3 separate regions of the Homo sapiens genome follow, and all the other regions are linked to region 3. Evidence: promoter capture Hi-C in 16 types of primary human blood cells and fetal thymus (Javierre and others, 2016). All regions are on one chromosome and are shown on one strand. Each heading gives the region's core, a stretch centred on a gene start or on the middle of the fragment in contact. The rest is flanking DNA. Distances are from core to core; before and after follow the strand shown.

Region 1 (3,409 bases), core at 699-3,198, 680 kb after region 3:
TACTTAACTTTCCTTTCTTTAGGTTTGCAGTTATAAATATCTACGCATTTTCTTAAAAGTCTTGTGAAAAATATTCACAGATTTGTCTATCATGAAGCTTATGAATGACACTTTCATTAGGAAAAAACTGAAACAAGCTGAATGTCTTTCAATAAGAAACTGGTTAAATAAGTTATGATACAGCCATACAACAGAATAATGCAGGTATTAAAAATAATGCTATATGTTCTCACTTGTAACTGGGAGCTAAAGAATGTGTACACATGGATGTGATCACAATGGAGATTCAGAAGGGTGAGAGGGTGGGACAGAGGTGAATAAGAAATTACCTAATAGGTACAATGGGTGTTATTCAGGTGACAGATACCCTAAAAGCCCTGACTTCCCACTATGAAATCTATGCATATAACCAAACTGCATCTGCACCTGCATTCATTTGTATTTATACAAATAAATGAATAAGATAAAAATAAAAAATAAAAATTATGCTATAGAAGGATACTTAAATCTGAAAGTAACATTTGTGTATAAAATGTAGGTTACAAATGAATTAAGTTATACCACTATTAAAAACACAACAAAGAACTTATACTAATGACTGAAAAAAGTACTATATACCAAAATATTAACAGTGATTATCATTAGATACTAGAATTACAGGTAATGATTTTTATTTTCTTTATATTTTTCTGCTCTTTCCAAACTGTCTACAACAGATATATATATTATTTTTGTATTCAGATAAAAAGTTGTTGAAAAAATGCACACAGTACTACCTTCAGATAGTCTGTAATGAAGGCCTGGAATAACAAAACTAATTTTGTATTATGTATGTTTCACTGTGAAATTACACAGTGAAATACAGTCTTCTCTGCCATAACATCTTACCACATTTATTTTAAAAGTCAGCAATATTTCCTTCATATCCTCTCATCTTTAAGAAGAATGAGAAGGCCAGAAGGAATGCAAGAATAAAAGGAGAAGCAGCTAACACAGATATTGATACTAGCCTCTGCAGAATTTCCAACAAACTATAAATGAAACTTAATTTACAGTGAAGAGCCACAATAATCAACAGGCAATCCAATCAGCTTAAGAACAATATCATGGGGGTTCTCGCTGTCCAAAGTTTTCTGTCTTTAGACACATGTATTTTCCTTTTTTTTTTTTTTTTGAGACAAGAGTCTCACTCTGTCACCAGGCTGGAATGCAGTGGTGCGATCTAGGCTCACCGCAACCTCCGCCTCCTGGGTTCAAGCGACTCTCCTGCCTCAGGCTCCCCAGTAGCTGGGACTACAGGCACACGCCACCATGCCCAGCTAATTTTTGTATTACTAGTAGAGACGGGGTTTCACCAGGTTGGCCAGGATGGTCCTGAACTCCTGACCTCAGGTGATCCACCCACCTCAGCCTCCCAAAGTGCTAGGATTACAGGCGTGAGCCACTGTGCCCAGCCAACAAAAGTATTTTCAAAAGTGCCTCAGAGAGTATCCTAGGAAGAAAACCTCATCTCACACTTGTAATAAAAGCAGAATGAATAAAAATTGTCAAAAACATGTAAAAGTTCATGTTATCTTCTCAAAGATAGACACAATTATCCTTTAAGTTCTTTTCAAACTCTAGCAAAATTAGCATAGAATACTTCCCAGTAACTCTCACAAACTGTCAGCATAAAAATCGATGCATTTTAACCCAAAAAACAAAAACAGAAAAACACAATAAACTACAGTAGAAATGGTTTGCAAGAAAGACCTTGTGACTATGCAAATCCCAGGCTCAACTTCTGACTCTGCTGGCCTGGCCTTTTCTCAAAGGCAGTATTTTGTGGTTAAAAAAAACCACTGGATTAGGACACATTAAACTAGATTCTGTTCCCTGCTCTGCTGATACTATTAAAGCTATCACCCGAGAAAAGTCACGTGCTAAGACCAGCTCGGTCACGGAGACCTTAACACAGCAGCACTAGAGGAATTAAAGACACACACAGAAATATAGTGTGGAGTGGGAAATCAGGGGTCTCACGGCCTTCAGAGCTGAGAGCCTCAAACAGACATTCACCCACATATTTACTGACAGCAAGCCAGTGATAAGCATTCTTTCTATAGATGATAGATTAACTAAAAGTATTCCTTACGGGAAACAAAGGGATGGGCCGAAATAAAGGGATGGGTCTGGCTAGTTATCAGCAGCAGGAGCAAGCCCTTAAGGCACAGATCGCTCATGCTATTGTCTGTGGTTCAGGAACGCCTTTAAGCGGTTTTCCACCCTGGGTGGGCCAGGTGTTCCTTGCCCTCATTCCGGTAAACCCACAAACTTCAGCATGGGTGTCATGGCCATCACAAACAGGTCACGGTGCTGCAGGGATTTTGTTTATGGCCAGTTTGGGGGCCAGTTTATGGCCAGATTTGGGGGCCTGATCCCAACAGTCATGTACTATCTGCAACTGAATGACCATTTCTGTATCATAAAATGAATGTAATAGGTGGAAAATGACAGATCTCTGAGGTTTCTTTTCTGTTTTTTCTTTTTTGCTTTTTTTCTTTTGAGACAGTCTGGCTCTGTCACCCAAGCTGGAGTGCAGTGGCACAATCACGGCTCACTGCAACCTCTGCCTCCCAGGTTCAAGCAATTATCCTGCCTCAGCCTCCCCAGCAGCTGGGACAACAGGCGCCTACCACCACGCCTGGCTAATTTTTTTTTTTTTTTTTTTTTTTTTTGAGACGGAGTTTGGCTCCTGTCACCCAGGCTGGAGTACAATGGCATGATCTCAGCTCACTGAAACCTCCGCCTCCCGGGTTCAAACAATTCTTCTGCCTTAGCCTCCCGAGTAGTTAGGATTACACGCATGCATCACCACACCAGGCTAATTTTGTATTTTTAGTGGAGACAGGGTTTCACCAGGTTGGTTGGGCTGGTCTCAAATTACTGGCCTTAGGTGATCAGCCTGCCTTGGTCTCCCAAAGTACTGGGATTACAGGCGTGAGCCACCATGCAGCCTGGCCTGAGGTTTCTTTTAGCCCTACAACACTACGATTCAAAGATTAAAAGTATGCCTCATTAAGTACTCTTCATGACAACTTGACTTGAACTTTAGGAATGTAAGTTCCCTTAAAAGGGCCCTCAGTTCTTACATTGGTAGGTACATAGAGGTTAGAATACTTCCAATTCAAGAAGCACTAACGCTAACCTGGGTTTTCATCCATGCTGTGTTGAAAGGAACTGATCAGCCCTTCTTCTGGGTGGATGTTAGTTCTGATATGTTTGTCCTTTCGGAGACAAAAAGTAAGGCCACAAAAGTTGTGAGTGACCATTTGAACAGGTTTTTTCACCTCGGGGAAAAAAGCAGATCTAGAATAAGGCATGAGATACTGGAAGGTCTCCAAGCCTTAGACAGGCAAGGAGACCTAAG
Region 2 (3,615 bases), core at 442-2,941, 600 kb after region 3:
TAGACGGGGAGAGGGAAAGTTGGGGAAATGTTAGTCAAAGCATATAAAATTTCAGACAGGAAGAATAAGTTCAAGAGATCTGTTGTACAACATGGTGACTATAGTTAATAACGATGTACTATATACTTGAAAATTGCTAAGAGTAGGTTTTAAGTGTTCTTACTACAAAAAAAAATGAAGTCATACATATGTTAATCAGCTCAGTTTAGGTATTCCACAACACATACATATTTCAAAATAATGTGCAGAATTACATACAATTTTTATCAATTAAAAAACACTTAAAAAAATTCATACAGACCACTTGTAAAATAACGTTTTGAGTTAACCAGGGAAATTTTATTTTAAATAGATAATTAGATTATACCAAAGAATTATTAATTTTACGTGTAAAATGGAATTGTGATTATGGAAAAGTCTTGTTTTTAGAAATGCATACTGAGCTATATGGGGGTAATGGTATATAAAATCTGGAATTTATTTTTAAATATAAAAAATAAGAGAGTGACTAAATGATGGGTATATACACACTTACCATACTGGTTATCTCTATTTTTAATCATATTTAAGAAAGAAATAACAGTACTGTCTTTCACTGGACTGGCACATAACTGTCCTTAAAACGCCTGCCATTAAAAGAATATTGGAAACAAAAAGTAAACTGCCTATTGATTTCACTATGATGATCTGACCTGGATAAAGAAAATGTGAAAAATCGGCCAGGCACGTGGGTCACGCCTGTAATCCTAAAACTTTGGGAGGCCGAGGCAGGTGGATCACCTGAGGTCAGGAATCCGAGACCAGCCTGGCCAACATGGTGAAACCCCGTCTCTACTAAAATACAAAAAAATCAGCCAGGCATGGTGGCAGGCGCCTGTAATCCCAGCTACTCAGGAGGCTGAGGCAAGAGAATTGCTTGAACCCGGGAGGCGGAGGTTGCAGTAAGCTGAGATTGTGCCCACTGCACTCCAGCCTGGGCAAGGAGCAAGACTGTCTTAAAAAAAAAAAAAAAGTGAAAAACCTTGCCACATGTACAGATAGATCAGGAAAAAAAAAAAGTTAGTGTATTTAAGCTTTGAAAGGGGAAAAAATCCTGACGATAAGCCAAACACTAAAGCAGCAGCTTGCTTTTCCTCCAAAAAGCCCCCTCCCCTTTTAGCCCCTGAGGAACATTCCTAGACACTGATTATCCTTAACTGGTACTAAATTTTCAGGAAAATAACTAATTCCACTCCCATAGCAACAAGCATCACTATTTTCATGTGTGCTGAGAGTACAGATCTAGTTACATTGTGACCTGCTGGTGGTGACCTTCAGCTCCTGAGATCATGCTGTCTTTACTTAGCCAGGAGAACTGGGGTTAGAAAAAAGGTACAAGGGGCATTCTCTTTGCCCTAGCATGAGTAACTATCCACTGGGTAGGTTCACTGTGAATCACGTGGTTTGAGAGTACGCGTGCTTTGGGCATCTCTCCTACTAAACATACTGTGGCTTCAGTCAGTAGATGGCTTATCTAGGATCTAACCTGGTAAAGTAGGAACAAGCAGTGCCGCTTTGTTTCTAGATGTGGGAACAACAAGGAGCCTGACCAAAGATGTCCACTCCCTCTTCCTCCACACCACTTCTGATGACCTCCAAACAGGTCAGGCAGTGTACATGGAGAGCTGGGGACAGCAAGTGGATAGATAGGAGAACACAGAGCCTGAGTGTCTCAGAAGCCAAGCTGCCTAACTACTGCTGTTTGTTTCCAAAACCTCTTCATCCTTTTAACCAGTCATTTAAGTTTACTTTAAATGCTGTAGCCCTTTGCTACATGTGTGGTGGGAGGCATCTTGCAGGTAATATCAGTTGAGTATCACGTAGCAGGAATGGAATTTGTGAGTCCTCTGGCTGATGCTGGCAAAGCTAGTTCTTCAAAAGAACTGTTTTACAGTCTAAGTGACATCTTTTTGTATATAACTTCGTACTAGTAAAGTTGGGGGTAGGGGGTAAAAAGGCCTTCCTTAACAGTGCATTTCTTCCATTCAAAATCAAGGGCAAAACTAAAAAGCTGGCAGATGGCGACCATCCTGACCCTTTGCGGCACAACATGTTATTAGCAATTAAATGCTTTTATCTGATCTCTGGTCCACACAACTGTCAAGGTCTCAAGATTTTATGATGTTTCCATTGTGATGGTAATTTGTTGAGATGGCTTTCTGGGTAATTTCGTATTGCTCTTGTTATTCAGTTTCAAGGATTATAAAATAATAATAGCAGCCCTGTGTGCTGACGAATGCATTCTCCATAACTATGGCTGCTCCTTGATGAGAAGCTTTACAGTACTATATATAAATGCCAGCTGAGTATTTGTTATTATTGTTGGACATCTTTTTTCAAAGAAGCCCAGAGCCTGGTGCTGATATCATCCCATTAATCTCCATAGCCCTGGGCAAGGTAAGACCATGACAGCAATTTTTTAAATCCCATCTCGGTCTTCTCTAGGTTGCTCTGTAAGAATTGTTTAGATGTAAGCTGGTGAGTGCTCAGGAAGCCAAAGTTTAAAGCAAAAGTTTTAAGCAAAAGAGTAACATGAGCTGATACTAAAAGCCATCTCTTGGCCCGGTGCAATGGCTCATGCTTGTAATCCCAGCACTTTGGGAGGCTGAGGCAGGCGGATCACCTGAGGTCAGGAGTTCAAGACCAGCCCGGCCAACATAGTGAAACCCTATCTCTACTGAAAATACTAAAAATTAGGCTGGCATAGTGGCAGGCATCTGTAATCCCAGCTACTCAGGAGGCTGAGACAGGAGAATCGCTTGAACCCGGGAGGCAGAGGTTGCAGTGAGCTGAGATTGTGCCACTGCACTCCAGCCTGGGCAATAAGAGTGAAACTCTGTCCAAAAAAAAAAAAAAAAAAAAGCCACCTCTTGTACTACTGAAGGAGGAATTTATGCAGACTTCTTAGCTACCAGTGATTTCACTCTGTTTTAATACAAAAATTTACATGTATTTCTTTTATGATTTAGGTCAGTGGGTTACCAACCCCAGATCTAAGCTGGCAACTAGATGGAAAGCCCGTACGCCCTGACAGTGCTCACAAGATGCTGGTGCGTGAGAACGGGGTGCACTCTCTGATCATAGAGCCAGTCACGTCACGTGATGCCGGCATCTACACATGTATAGCTACCAACCGAGCAGGACAGAACTCATTCAGCCTGGAGCTTGTGGTTGCTGGTAGGCTCATCTGTGAATCCTTGCTCTCTGACAGAATGAACATCAGACTTACAAATGTAAACTAATTCTACATTACTAACCAATACGGAAAATAAAGTATTGAAAAAATAGATTGTATCATCAAAATAGCCAATGAGGACATGGTTATAAGGCCTAGCAAAACAGAAACAGAAATCTTTCATTTCTCCCACTAACCTGGCAAAGAGAGAAAAAGATTTTATTAGCTCTTTTGGGTCATTCGACCTCCTGTGTGTATAGTGGCCCCTAGTGTTACATAGAGAAATAGTAACAGCAGCATGGACTCCAAGAACCAAAGAATTTGCTTATATATAAAGTTTTATATTTATATATATATATATATACACACACACACACACACACACACACACACACACACAC
Region 3 (3,221 bases), core at 430-2,929:
AAAAGAAGAAGAAGAAAAAAAAGAAAACCTGAATCTGATCAAAACGCTAGTAGTAATGATTAATTTACAAGAAATTTAGAGGCCAGCAAAATATGTTAAATGACACCACAGGGATTAGGACACATACACACACACACACATAAACACACACCCAACAGGACACACACATACAAAAACAAACAATCATAAGACCACAAATCTTACAAACGAATAAATTAAAAGGGGATGAAAGAAATTGCAAGAACCTTATAAGGCTTATCCTCCAATCACAGTAGTGTCAGAACCATATTCTGATTCAAACAATCTTAAAAAGGAAGAAGAAAAGAAGAAGGGAGGAAGAGAAATGGAAAAGAGAAAAAAGGAGGGAAGAGGAAAGGCGCAAAGGGGAGGTAAAGAGGAAAAAAATGGGGGCAAGGGAAGGGAAAGGAAATCATGGATTCTGTATTGGAACAGAATGGTGGAGCTACTTGATGAAAGGCATCAAGCTCCTGAAACCCTGCCTGGAGAAGAGCTGGTGGGTTAAAATGGCTTCCAGTACCCGGTATAACCCTCTCCCCTTGAGTGTGGACAGGACCTGTGAATTTAATGGCATAGTCTCTTTAATGATTCGGTTATATTATGTAAGACTTCATCATAGTAGACTCGGGAGATTCCCCCAAAGAGGCTTATACCTTCTTTAAAGGTACCCTATACCTTCTTTAACGGTATAAGCCACCTTGTTGTGAGAAGGCCACTGTAGCTAAGATCTCAGGGTGAAATCTAAAGACATGGGAACCCCCAGCCAACAGCCAGCAAGAAAGCAGGTAACCTCAGTCCTTTAGCTGCAAGAAACTGAATTCTTCCAACAACCTGAATGAGCATCCATGGTGTCCCATGAGGCCACAGCTCTGACACCTTGATTTCAGCTCGATGAGATGCTGAACAGAGAACTCACTTTACCCATGCCTGGGCTTCTGATCCACAGCAATTGTAAAATAATAAACTTGTAATGTTTTAAGCCACTATACCTGCCCCTTGACCAGGAATAAATTAAGTTACTGGAGTAGGAAATAAATTTCTATTGTCTTAAGCCACTGAAATTTAAGGGTGCACAGAAATTACCTGGGGGAATCTTATTAATAAACGCAGATTCTGATTCTACAAGTCTGGAGCAGGGATTGAAGGTGGAAGCTTCTTGCTGCTGTCAATGTACAGGTTTTACTGGCTGTGCTTAGATATGATGTCCCTTAATTTCTCCTCAACCTCCATTACCCAGCTCCCACCTTTGACGGGGACTCCTTAAATGCCTAACTAAGCACTCCTCTCTGTCTCAGACTTCAGGCCTTTCGCGGTTGTCCCTTTCCTCCGCCCCTCCCCACGCCCGGCCTTCCGGGCCAGCAGGGGGCCCGTGCGCCACGGCCTTGCGATCCCAGGAGGTTCCCCAGATTCCCGCGCCCCGAGCCCAGCACTCCTGGGCCACCTCCCTGTCCGGTCCGTTGAAGAAGACCTAGAACTCCCGCTAGACAGCTCCGCCCCAGGCTCTTCCCAAGGGACATCCCCGGCTCCTCACCGCGGACTCAGGACCGGTGGTGTCCAAAGACCCGCGAGCTGCGCGCCCCGCGGGGAGGGAGTGAAACAGAGACCTAGCGCAGAGCCCAGGTGGAAGTTCCAGGTTACCCCAGACCTGGCCTAGGACTCGGCGCTCTGAGCCACCGCAGCCAGTCTTTTATGCATCCGGCGGGAGTTTCGGTTTCCTTTCTCCTCTCAGAAGCACTTAGGTTTCAGTTTCCCTTCAGCACGAATTAGGCGAGGCACTTTCGTGGAAAGTTTAGCATCCTTCCCTTCAATCAGAATCTTAAGAAGGGGAGCATGGCGAGACGTTAGTTAAAAGGTATGAAGTTACAATAGCTAGGAAGAACCAGTTCTGGTATTCTATTCTGCAGTAGGGTGTGTATAGTTAACAATAATGCATATTTCAAAATAGCTAGAAGAGAGAATTTTGAATATTCTCATCACAAAGAAATAGTAAAGTTTTGAGGTAATAGATGGGCTAATTATCCTGATTTGATCATCACACAATGTATACATGTATTGAAACGTCACATTGTACCCCAAAAATATATACAATTATTATGCGTCAATTAAAAATAAAATGAAACTAAAAAAAACCTTAAAAGAGAGAGACAAAGGCAATAAAAATGGGCTTTGGAATTTGGGCATAAATATAGAGTAAATTGAGGCAGAAAAATTTGTAACATCTAAACAAGATAAAATCAAGAAGAGTTAGAATTTAGAAATTGATAAAATGTAAAAGACACTGTGGAATCTGAAACCCCACAATGAAATTGGAGATCTTGCTGCTTCTACTTGTATGCAAAAAGAAAAAAGAAAGTATGTAACAATACATGAACTTTGAGTTTCTGTTATGAGAAGCTGATGATTACTGTTCTGTATAAACTGTAATTGGTACTTTCATGGGCCAAGAATCAACATTAAAAAATAAATTGAAAATGCAGAATGGTCACATTTATTTGTGCCTCAAATTGATGAAATGTTCTCTTAATTTTTGCCTGTTGATACTTGCAGTGTGGGTTTCGATACTCATCTCCTTTCCTTTCAGTGCCCTCGTATGCTTGATTTCATTAATGCTATAAATATGCATTCATATATTGGAAATAGAAGAGGGTGTGGAGGAAAGACAGCAGTGAATTTGGGTAATCAGCATGATAAGAAGCCACAGGCTGCTTTGTCTACAAGGAAAGGAAAGAGCCAAGGTCCAGGCACTGCTCCACAGGGAACACAGAACAGAGAGAGTAGTGAATGATACTTTGTCTTGTGAAAAATTAGAGAGTCAAGTTGTTAAAAGAGGGGGATATGGGGAAGGAGGACATTTCTCACATCCATCAGACAATTACTTGTTTATTCATTTGTTTAGAAATTCACGTGTTTGTTAGTGATGAGATTAAGAAAGAAAATAAAAGACTCTAGAATTTAACACATGATTGGTCTTAAATCAGCCAATATTCCTGTCTCCTTCACTGTGATCTCTGATGTACCTGCCTGGGGTAGGCTGAATAATACCCTGCACTCCTCCCTCCAAAAGAGGCCAAAATCCTAATTCCTGGAACCTATGAATACAGTAACTTTCATAGCAAAAGTAACTTTGCAAAATAGATTAAATAAGAATCTTTAGAAGAGGAGATTACCCCTTACCCGGGATTATCCAGGTGGGCCCAAGGTCA

The links. Contacts are between HindIII fragments. The CHiCAGO score rates a contact against its expected background, and 5 or more counts as called.
Region 1: a fragment that was not itself captured here is called in contact with the fragment with the promoter of DDX60 in region 3 in 2 of 17 cell types (non-activated CD4 T cells and total CD8 T cells); the score reaches 5.8 in non-activated CD4 T cells.
Region 2: a fragment that was not itself captured here is called in contact with the fragment with the promoter of DDX60 in region 3 in 3 of 17 cell types (endothelial precursors, megakaryocytes and fetal thymus); the score reaches 7.4 in endothelial precursors.

Annotation. Positions count from the first base shown.
Region 1 is chr4:168,992,055-168,995,463 of GRCh38, forward strand. All of the region lies in intron 4 of CBR4 (carbonyl reductase 4), which reads right to left. Among named protein-coding and RNA genes, the nearest start is that of CBR4, 16 kb to the right of the region's middle. RefSeq lists enhancers at 2,257-3,063, 3,064-3,409. The HindIII fragment of the contact is 3,707 bases long and covers 96-3,409 here.
Region 2 is chr4:168,918,526-168,922,140 of GRCh38, forward strand. It overlaps PALLD (palladin, cytoskeletal associated protein), which reads left to right. Exons shown (of 22, transcript NM_001166108.2): 18 at 3,009-3,216. It also overlaps a transcript of CBR4 not described here. Among named protein-coding and RNA genes, the nearest start is that of CBR4, 90 kb to the right of the region's middle. The HindIII fragment of the contact is 1,241 bases long and covers 1,072-2,312 here.
Region 3 is chr4:168,317,073-168,320,293 of GRCh38, forward strand. It overlaps DDX60 (DExD/H-box helicase 60), which reads right to left and starts at 1,680. Exons shown (of 38, transcript NM_017631.6): 1 at 1,550-1,680. RefSeq lists an enhancer at 1,614-1,943. The HindIII fragment of the contact is 2,588 bases long and covers 1,169-3,221 here.